Regions from separate parts of the Homo sapiens genome. Here regions 1 and 2 are each linked to region 3. The links are contacts of gene promoters, found by promoter capture Hi-C in blood cells and fetal thymus (Javierre and others, 2016). All regions are on one chromosome and are shown on one strand. The core of a region is centred on a gene start or on the middle of the fragment in contact, and the rest is flanking DNA. Distances in the headings are between cores, read along the strand shown.

Region 1 (3,265 bases), core at 11-2,510, 93 kb after region 3:
AGCACCACATCAAGATTTTCTCTTTGATCCGATCAGGAATAGTAAGAACTGAAAAGGGCAGTTTGAATCACGGTGCGATGAAGGAGTAGATGGTGGGATCTCACCACGGGTCTGATTAGCCCTTTCTCTGCCTTGCTTGAGCTTCAGCAGAACTCGAAATGGCTGACGGTAAGGCTGGGAAGGACTCCGGAAAGGCCAAGACAAAGGCGGTTTCCCGCTCGCAGAGAGCCGGCTTGCAGTTCCCAGAGGGCTGTATTCATCAACACCTGAAATCTAGGACGACGGGTCACAGACATGTGGGTGCAACTGCCGCTGTGTACAGCGCAGCCATCCTGGAGTACCTCACCGCAGAGGGACTTGAACTGGCAGGAAATGCATCAAAAGACTTAAAGGTAAAGTGTATATTACCCCTCGTCACTTGCAACTTGCTATTCGTGCAGATGAAGAATTGGATTCTCATCAAGGCTACAATTGCTGGTGGTGGTGTCATTCCACACATCCACAAATCTCTGATTGGGAAGAAAGGACAACAGAAGACTGTCTAATGTATGCCTGGATTCCTTGTTATCTCAGGACTCTAAATAAAAGAACAGCTGTCCAGTGTTGGTGATGCCAGTGGACTATATTTCTGTGAAAAACACAATTTTGTCTTTTTGTAATTCTATTTGGGCAAGTTGGAAGTTTAATTAGCTTTCCAACCAAATTTCTGCATTTGAGTCTTAACCATATTTAAGTGATACTGTGGCTTCAAGGAAGCTATTGATTCTGAAGTACTGGGCTTTGATTGAGCTGACTGTTTTTAAAAAACTGTTTGGATTTTAATTGTAATGCAGAAGTTATAGTAACAAACATTTGGCTTTGTACAGACATTATTTCCACTGTGGTGGATAAGCTCAATAAAGGTCATATCCCCCAAGAAAAAAAAAAAACAAAAAGAAAAGAACTGAAAAGGGAGTCATGACCTGACTTCTATTTCAATGATGTTTACTGCTGGGCTGACACCCTGTCTAAAATCATCTCCAGTGGTGCAAATGCCACCGAACAAGCATGACAGCAGTGGGGCCTCAAACCCTTCCCCACCCACAGTCTACAAACAGCCTTTTCACCACCATCCCAGTTGGAAAGAAATTTATTTATTCCCCCAAAATAAAATCCTAGAAACTCTCCAAAAAGGGTGGGGTGGGGGACAATCTGCTTAAGGAGAACAATGAGGGGGTTGGAGGTCTGCAAAAAAGTAGAAGAGAGCTTGGGGTAACTTCAAACTTCCAAACCAGATCACAGCACAGGTGACGGGGAACGGACAAGGAGGGTAATAAGAAAGGCAGCTTCACTCAGGAGTAAAAGCCACAGAAAGCAATGAGCCACCCTTTGACGACTGCAGGGGGTTCTCACAGTCCTGCTTCCCCCACCACCACCTACTCCCCACCTCTGCAACCTATATGCAAACCAGCCTATTCATATTCCTTGCATACTAGAAGAGAACCTAGAGTCAGCCCTGCCATTTCAAGTTTGAGCCTCTTGCGGGAAAAGGCTGTACCCACAAACAAAGAGGAAACCCACACTAGGTACTTAGGAATCCAGTCATTCAGGACTGCACAAGAACGGCCAAGCAAGATCCAGAAGTTCACCACTCGTGTCCTTACACGAAAAAAATTTACTCCAGGAGGGATTCCAGGAAAAAAAAAAAAAAAAACAAACCAAAGATGCCAAGGCAAAAAATGATACAAGATTGAAGAAACAGCAGGACAGGTTTTCTGACCTAAGTTCTAACCCTGGCTCTACAATAAATACACAATCAGGCCAGGTGCGGTGGCTCACGCCTGTAATCCCAGCACTTTGGGAGGATGAGGCAGGCAGATCACTTGAGGTTGGGAGTTCGAGACCAGCCTGGCCAACATGGTGAAACCCCATCTCTATTAAAAATACAAAAATTAGCCAGGTGTGGTGGTGCACACCTGTAATCCCAGCTACTAGAAGGCTGAGACAGGAGAATCGCTTGAACCTGGGAGGCAGAGCTTGCAGTGAGCTGAGATCACGCCACTATACTCCAGCCTGAGCGACAAAGCAAGACTCTGTCTACAATAAAATAAAATAAAATATTCTTATCTTTTGATTCTATAATTCAACATTTATGATTATTTCTTTAAAATGGGGTTAAAGATGCAATCAATAACTTAGTTACAAAGATGTTCTAAGTGTTTCTAACGGGAAAATACTGCAAAAAAAACTTATTTTAGTACGATAAAATGTTATAATCGACCGGGTGCAGTGACTAATGCCTGTAATCCCAGCACTCTGGGAGGCTGAGTCGTGCGGATCACCTGAGGTCAGAAGTTCAAGACCAGCCTGGCCAACATGGTAAAACCCTGTCTCTACAAAAATACAAAAATTAGCTGGGCATGATGGCAGGTGCCTGTAATCCCAACTACTCGGGAGGCTGAGGCAGGAGAATCACTTGAACCCGGGAGGCAGCAGTTGCAGTAAGCCGAGATCACACCATTGCACTCCAGGCTGGACGACAGAGCAAGACCTTGTCTCAAAAAAAACAAAAAAAAAGTTATGGATAGGGCGTGGTGGCTCATGCCTATAATCCCAGCAACTTGGGAGGCCAAGAAAGGCAGATCACCTGAGGTTAGGAGTTCGAGACCAGCCTGGCCCAAATGGCGAAATCCCATCTTAAATAAAAAAAAAAAATTGAAAAAAAAAGTTATAATCATTCTAACTCACGTTTTTTAATATCTGAGATGTTGGAAGAACATCAAATGTGTATTTGAATGCCATTTCTGTATAAAATCAAATGTATAGGTATATGTATATGTATATACATGCGTCAGAAAAAAAAAGAATGCATAGATAAGCAGGTACACAGAAAAAGTCTAAAAGAATGACCACTAGACTACCAACAATGGTTACGTGGGCGTGGGAATCATTATGTGGGACTAATCCCTTCTACACTACATAAAATATTTGTATAATTTTTGAACTTTTTCAGCATGTTTCAGTTTTGTAATAAGGCAAAACAAAGATAATGGTAAAAGTTGGCTTTGAAGATTACTTAATGACATGGAGTGAATTCATTCAAGAAGAGTAAATGAAAAAAGCAGAATATGAAACTGTAGATAGGCTGACCTTTCCTTTAAAAATGTGTATTTATATGCACACATAAAGGAGAAAAAAATTTATACAAGAGCAATATAGAAATAATGATCAAATCTGGGCAGTATAATGAAATGGAAATTTATGTTTTTTTCCCTATATTTTATGT
Region 2 (3,250 bases), core at 125-2,624, 110 kb after region 3:
TGAAATCTTATGTGGGTAAAAGATTAATTTGAACCATAAAATACACCAGTAAACTTTAGTGTAACAGTCCAAAATGTTCATTCATATGGTTTCAGATTCCTCACTGCAATTAACCTTTAAGAAACTACCACTTGCTAAGTTATCGTATAGTATCAAAAAATAATGTATCACCTGAAAGGCTATTAAAATGCTTCCTTTTCCAACCGTGGGGGTGTATCTAGGTGAAGCCAGGTTTTCCTCATATGCTTCAACCAAAGCAATGTATCCCAACAAACTGAAAGCAGAAGCATATATGAGGACCCAGCTGTTTTCTATTGAACCAGACATTAAAGACATTTGCCCGCCAGACACAGTGGCTTAGGCCTGTAATTCCAGCACTTTGGGAGGCTGAGGCAGACGGTTCACTTGAGGTCAAGAGTTTGAGACCAGCCTAGCCAACGTGGCGAAACCCTGTCTCTACAAAAAGTACAAAAAATAGCTGGGTGTGGTGGTGCACACCTGAAGTTCCAGCTTCTCAGGAAGCTGAAGCATGAGAATCGCTTGAACCCAAAGGCAGAGGTTGCAGTGAGCCAAGGTTGTGCCACTGCACTCCAACCTGGGGGACAGAGAGAGACCCCATCTCAAAATAAATAAATAAATACATACATACATACATACATACGTGCATGCATTTGCCAAAATGTTAAACCGTGCTATTCTTCCAATATTTTTTTGCTTGGGACAGTATAGTAATTTTGCATTAAAAAGTGTTAGATATGTTAATATGTAATGGGTATTTTTTTTAATGAACTTCATATATATCTTTTACATTTCTCAGTTTCAATTTCTACTATGGTAAATACTCATAGGTATAAACCCACATAAACTAAAGATCTGTAGTTCTTAATAATTTCTAAGAATAAAGGGATTCCAAAAAGTTTGAGAACCGACATTAAAAAGTGCTTTAAAGCTTAAAAAACATAAACCCTTCACTTACGTTCAATTCTATAAACATTCTTTGCAGCTAAATGCAAGATGGTATGGCATCCAGACTCTGCTCATAAGTATCTGCAGTGATCCATACCTTGATTGTACATCTACTCTGCATCCTGAGGACCTGAACATGCTAACTGGTGGCTGCAGATTTGTCTTCTAAGGAGCAAGTGTGGTCTGTGGACAGGCAGCTTCAGCCTCACCTGGGATTTTGTTTGCACTAGAAAGTGCCAAGCCCTACCCTAGACCTATTAAAGCAGAACTGGCGTTTAACAAGACACCCCAGGTAATTTGTGTGCACCTTAGAGTCTGAGATGCACTAGTGTAGTGATTCGCAGGGGGACAATTTTGACCTCCAGGGGACAATATCTGGAGACATTTTTGGGTGTCACAACGTGCTGGGGAGAGGGTGCTACTGGCATCTAATGGGCTGAGGCCAAGGGTGCTGCTAAACATCTGGCAATACCGGGCCAACCTCCCCCCTCCTCCTGCCCACAGTAAAGAATTACCCCGCCTGGATTGTCAGTAGTGCAGAGGTAGAGGAAACCCTACACCTGTGAAACTCATCTGACCTTTACTATGAATTCCTGGATCTCCTGGTGCATATCATTTCTGTTGCCCTGGCTGACATTTCCACCTTTTCTCTTTTCTAGATTTTATTACAAGAACTCAATCTGTTGGTCTCTAGGAATCACCTATTGCCTTGCTATGTTTTGTTGAACCTGTTTTTGAATCTGCTTTCTACATTGGGGAAATAGGTATACGTTTGTAAACCTTAAAAGCTCTGTATGCTATAAGGAAATCACCAGACACGTGGATAAGCTTTGCAGAGGTGAAGGGCTGTCTCCACCAGAGAGACCCAGAAGGAGTCAGGGTAAGCCTGACTCATCATGAGATCAGGTATCCCCAATCCACAGCGGACTTCCACAGTTCACCTTCCTAGGTAACCGCTCTGCCTTCCCAGGTAAAGTAGGAATAATATCAGAACTTACAGCATATTTTGAGGTCAAATTGTAGAATTTGGTGATTTCATTTTTATTATTACTCAACCTTTTATTTACAACCAAATTAATAAGGCTACTTACACATAACAATGTGTGGACATACACATTAAGAGAATCATTTGCTGCCTAGCACTCCTACCTAGGTACTTTAAGAACATCATTGAGTGGATACTCCCTCTGCTGGGTAAAATACTTTGCCACAATATCAGCTGAAATGATACCTCTTCCAGACTGTAATGGCAGAAGTAGTTATCCCCTCTTTCGTGCTGTCATCACACTTGATGCATGCCTACTTTATAATACTTATGCCATTGTCTCTGTTATTGGGTTTCTGTCTTCTACTGTGAAAGGGTGAGCCCATAAAAAACAGGGAATGTGTCTTTCAAAATGTTGTATCCTGCTCATTCTGATGTGAAGCCATTGTCCTCCTTCAATAAAATAAAACAGCATTTCTGAGGTCTTAGCATCAGGAAAATCTCCAGGTGGGTAAGGTTAAAGAAAAAATTATTCATGACACTTGTTCAGTGTGGTGCAATAGTCTCTTCTCACACTGCTATAAATACCCAAGACTGGGTAATTTTTTTATTGATTTATTTTTTAATTAATTTTTTTTTTTTTTTTGAGACGGAGTCTGGCTCTGTTGCCCAGGCTGGAGTGCAGTGGCGCAATCTCGGCTCACTGCAAGCTTCGCCTCCCAGGTTCACGCCATTCTCCTGCCTCAGCCTCCCAAGTAGCTGGGACTACAGGCGCCTGCCATCACGCTCGGCTAATTCTTTTTTGTATTTTTTAGTAGAGACGGGGTTTCACCATGTTAGCCAGGATGGTCTCGATCTCCTGACCTCGTGATCCACCCGCCTCAGCCTCCCAAAGTGCTGGGATTACAGGTGTGAGCCACCGCGCCCGGCCTATTTTTCATTTTTTTGAGATGGAGTCTCACTCTTGTTGCCCAGGCTGGAGTACACTGGCGCTATCTCGGCTCACTGCAACCTCCGCCTTCCGGGTTCAAGTGATTCTCCTGCCTCAGCCTCCCTAGTAACTGGGATTACAGGCGCCCGCCACCACATCTGGCTAATTTTGTATTTTTTGTAGAGACAGGGTTTCACTATTTTGACCAGGCTGGTCTCGAACTCCTGACCTCAGGTGATCCACCCGCCTCGGCCCCCCAAAGTGCTGGGATTACAGGTGTGAGCCACCACACCCGGCCAAGACTGAGTAATTTATAAAGGAAAGAGTTTTAATTGACTCACAGTTCCACATGGCTGCGGAGGCCTGAG
Region 3 (3,464 bases), core at 93-2,592:
TCTGACAATGTTCCTCCATACTCACAGCACTTTAGACGTTAGAAGAACCTAATGACATCTGTGGGAGGCAAAAGCTACTCGACTATTTTTACAGAATCCTGGAGCAGAAAGGCTTCTGAGATCACAGAGTTACAAATTCCTACCAAATGATTCAATTCTGTTTACATCATCCCTCAAAATCATCAAGTTTACTCAAGCATCTAAATAAGAAACAGCATATTCCATTTTTCAAAATAATCACAACTTTTGGGAATGACTCTCATCTTTTGATCCAAAAGCTATGTCCAGTAACTTCTTACTGACCCTCCCGCTAGTCTCTGGAGTTAGGAAGACTGACACAAGCAATGTAAACACTTTTCTATGAGAGTTTCCACAAGCATAAGGATAATGACCCTATGCCTACAAAGCATACACATCCCCAGCTTATTTAATCAGTTCTCCTAAGACCTGCTATCCAGGCCCCTCACTGCCACAGGTGTTATCTATGTCTTCGTAAAAAGCAGCACCCAGAAGTGGCTGGGAATGGCCAGATCAGTCCTGACTAAGTGTAAACATCACCTCTCCTGATCTGAGTGCTACATATCTGGTAATTTAGCCTACAAATAAACTGCATTCTGACAGACACGTTAGTTGGTTTAAACTGAGTCAACTACAACTATGAGGTGAATGGCATGAGTCTCTTTCACCCTGTGCTGAAGAGGCTGGATTTTATCTATAATGGGCCTCCCTTCAACTGTTTCCCTGTTATTCAAGTACTCACACAGCCTCTGACTCAGGCAGCCTCTCGACTGAAAACGGCGACTAATCCAGTCCACTCCACATCCTGGACTGTCACTCACCCCCACGCCACAGAAACCTGTTTCTTTCTCATAAGCTGTGGATAAGGTGGAATGTGTAAACTACTCCCTGATACCAAGTTTCCAGGTAAAAAGCACTGTCAAAGTTGACACTATTTTCCTTAAAACATTTAAAAACCCATACTTTTACATGCAAAATCAATATAAAATCATCAGTAACTTGGTCTTTTTTTTGGTTAAGGTTTATTGCTTCAGTCTCTTTCAAAGAATTTTTTGATACTTAAACCTTTACAGAAAAATTTATAAAGTTCCACAGATATCAACAATTCATAAATTCCAAGGGGCTTTTGGATAGTTTTTTTTAATCACTATAAAAAATTTCACTTCCCATTTAAAACAAAAAAAAACACAAAGTGCACACACGTACACGAGGCTAACTGCTCATTACATGCTCAGTCACAGGGTGACAGAGAAAAAAAAAGTCACCACCATAAAAGGAGGTCTGCACAGCCTCTCTTAAAACAACATGCCACAGTTAAAACTTACTTCAGTTTGGACAACTACTCACAGCTACTACACAGAGACCCGAACGAGTCACTGATATGTAAGTACAAGATCTTTTGCTTTTTCAACAAACTTTTTAAAGAAAAACTTTAAAAGCCTAAGTTTTAAGGTAAAAGGTAAAAAGGAAAACAATCTATTTAAGAACAAGCTACCATCACTTCTAACAAAAATTATATTAATAATGTAAGTTTACTCTCTCTGCTGACTGGTAGGTCTAGTTAGTTCTTATAAAGTTGACTGAAAGCGATGGGTCCACCAGAAATATCTTTGTCAAAAAATAGGGCTCACTTCATGTACTACTGTATAAACTCACAATGACAAAAGACAGTATCAAGCAAAACTATGCAAATAATGCCAATATTTCAGGATAACTTAGTATGAAGGAAAAGGAACAAAGTTATTTTAATATAGAATATTCCTATGCTATAGGAATTATTAGAAATATAAGATTATTTCTCAGGATAGAATCTCAGGGGTAGAATTCCTAGGGCAAAGGGTATATTTTCTAAAGCTTTAGATATAAAACGGTACTTTTTGGTCTACAAAAACATTTTACCAATTTACCCTCCCGCCAGCAAAGAGTACCAATCTTTGCTTTTTAAATGCTAAATACTACTAATTAGATAAGTGAAAAAAAAGTCTGTTGTGTGGTTTATACTTGTGTTTACTTAGACTAAACGTATCTTTTCTATGTGCCTGAGGGGAAAAAATCACAATGAATTCTATGCAGTGCTTTGGCAACATTTATGTCCAGGTTGGGAATGGTGGTAACAGAAACTTGGCAAAATAGAAGCTGTGAAGAGACTTCCTTTAAAGGGCAGTGAGGGTTTTATATATGTGTGTTTGTGTGTGTGTTGGGGGAGGGGGGCGTGGTATTTTGTTTTTTTGGTGTCACTCTGAGTACAATATAGTGTAATAAGAGCAAGGGCTCTGAAATCAGGATCAAATGAAATTTACAAGCTGTGTGGCCCCCCCACACACAAGTTACCTAATATCTGGCTTCAGCTGCTTTACCTGTAAAATGGGGAGTATTACTACTGCCAAGTCCTTACAACATTGCCTCTCATTATAAGTGCTAAAAAACTGTCTCCCATCATTCTTCTCCCATCTCTCTGGCCACTGACGTACCAGAGGGTGAATCCAACAGATATGTTATGGATATTTTACATAAAGACCCTGAATCAGGCTGGGTGTGGTGGCTCACTCCTGTAATCCCAGCACTTTGGGAGGCCGAGGCAGGCGGATCACCTGAGATCAGGAGTTCGAGACCAGCCTGGCCAACATGGTGAAACCCCATCTCTACTAAAAATATAAAAGTTAGCCAGGCACGGTGGCACTCACCTATAATCCCAGCTACTCAAGAGGGTGAGGCAGGAGAATCCCTTGAACCTGGGAGGCGGAGGTTGCAGTGAGCCGAGATTGCGCCACTGCACTCTAGCCTGGGCGACCATGCGAGACTCTGTCTCGATAGATAAATAAATAAATAAATAAATGGCCCTGAGTCTATGGATGATCACACATCTAACTGTGCTTACTGGTAGGACTGCACACTTCTTATATTTTAGCATGTTTTCTCTCTGCGGGTTCACTGCACTTTTTGGACATAAAACCACAAAGAATATGCTACTCCACAAAATGTTCACTCACATGTTTATGTATCGCGTTAGTGACAATGGTAATGATCCCTTGCATAAATTACTTTCATCTGGCTTCCTAGAGCTAATTAGTACCATGACCAGTCAGTTAATGGAATAAATATTAACTCAGGTTTCTATATGACTTTAATTCATTTATTTATTCTATAGATATTTACTAGATATCTATTGTAGGTTGGTTCTGTAGCATTCTATAGGATAAAATGTTGGATGAGATCAAGTCATCATCCTCAAGAAGCTTACATTTAAAAGAGCTTCGCACCTAATAAAGCCGTTTACAGGGATACTTTTCTCTCTGCTATGGTTAAGACCTGCTGGAGTTGTTAGGCAGCCCTGGACGTGGCCTGTGTAGAGGACGCGTGGTGTTCTCCAGTCTGGGGGGTTTATCACCTTCTCAAGAAGTCTGGGCATTGTATAAAATGAGATAACACATGTGAGAATCCTCTGA

The links. Contacts are between HindIII fragments. The CHiCAGO score rates a contact against its expected background, and 5 or more counts as called.
Region 1: a fragment that was not itself captured here is called in contact with the fragment with the promoter of GPR183 in region 3 in 1 of 17 cell types (non-activated CD4 T cells); the score reaches 5.8 in non-activated CD4 T cells.
Region 2: a fragment that was not itself captured here is called in contact with the fragment with the promoter of GPR183 in region 3 in 5 of 17 cell types (monocytes, naive CD4 T cells, total CD4 T cells and 2 more); the score reaches 6.6 in monocytes.

Annotation. Positions count from the first base shown.
Region 1 is chr13:99,212,652-99,215,916 of GRCh38, reverse strand. All of the region lies in intron 1 of UBAC2 (UBA domain containing 2), which reads right to left. It also overlaps the pseudogene H2AZP3. Among named protein-coding and RNA genes, the nearest start is that of UBAC2, 13 kb to the right of the region's middle. The HindIII fragment of the contact is 9,244 bases long and covers 1-3,265 here.
Region 2 is chr13:99,195,556-99,198,805 of GRCh38, reverse strand. UBAC2-AS1 (UBAC2 antisense RNA 1) reads left to right here. Exons shown (of 2, transcript NR_036531.1): 2 at 1,004-2,432. Among named protein-coding and RNA genes, the nearest start is that of UBAC2-AS1, 3.6 kb to the left of the region's middle. The HindIII fragment of the contact is 845 bases long and covers 952-1,796 here.
Region 3 is chr13:99,305,277-99,308,740 of GRCh38, reverse strand. GPR183 (G protein-coupled receptor 183) reads left to right here and starts at 1,342. Exons shown (of 2, transcript NM_004951.5): 1 at 1,342-1,401. The region is part of intron 4 of UBAC2 (UBA domain containing 2); the gene reads right to left. The HindIII fragment of the contact is 4,315 bases long and covers 1-1,874 here.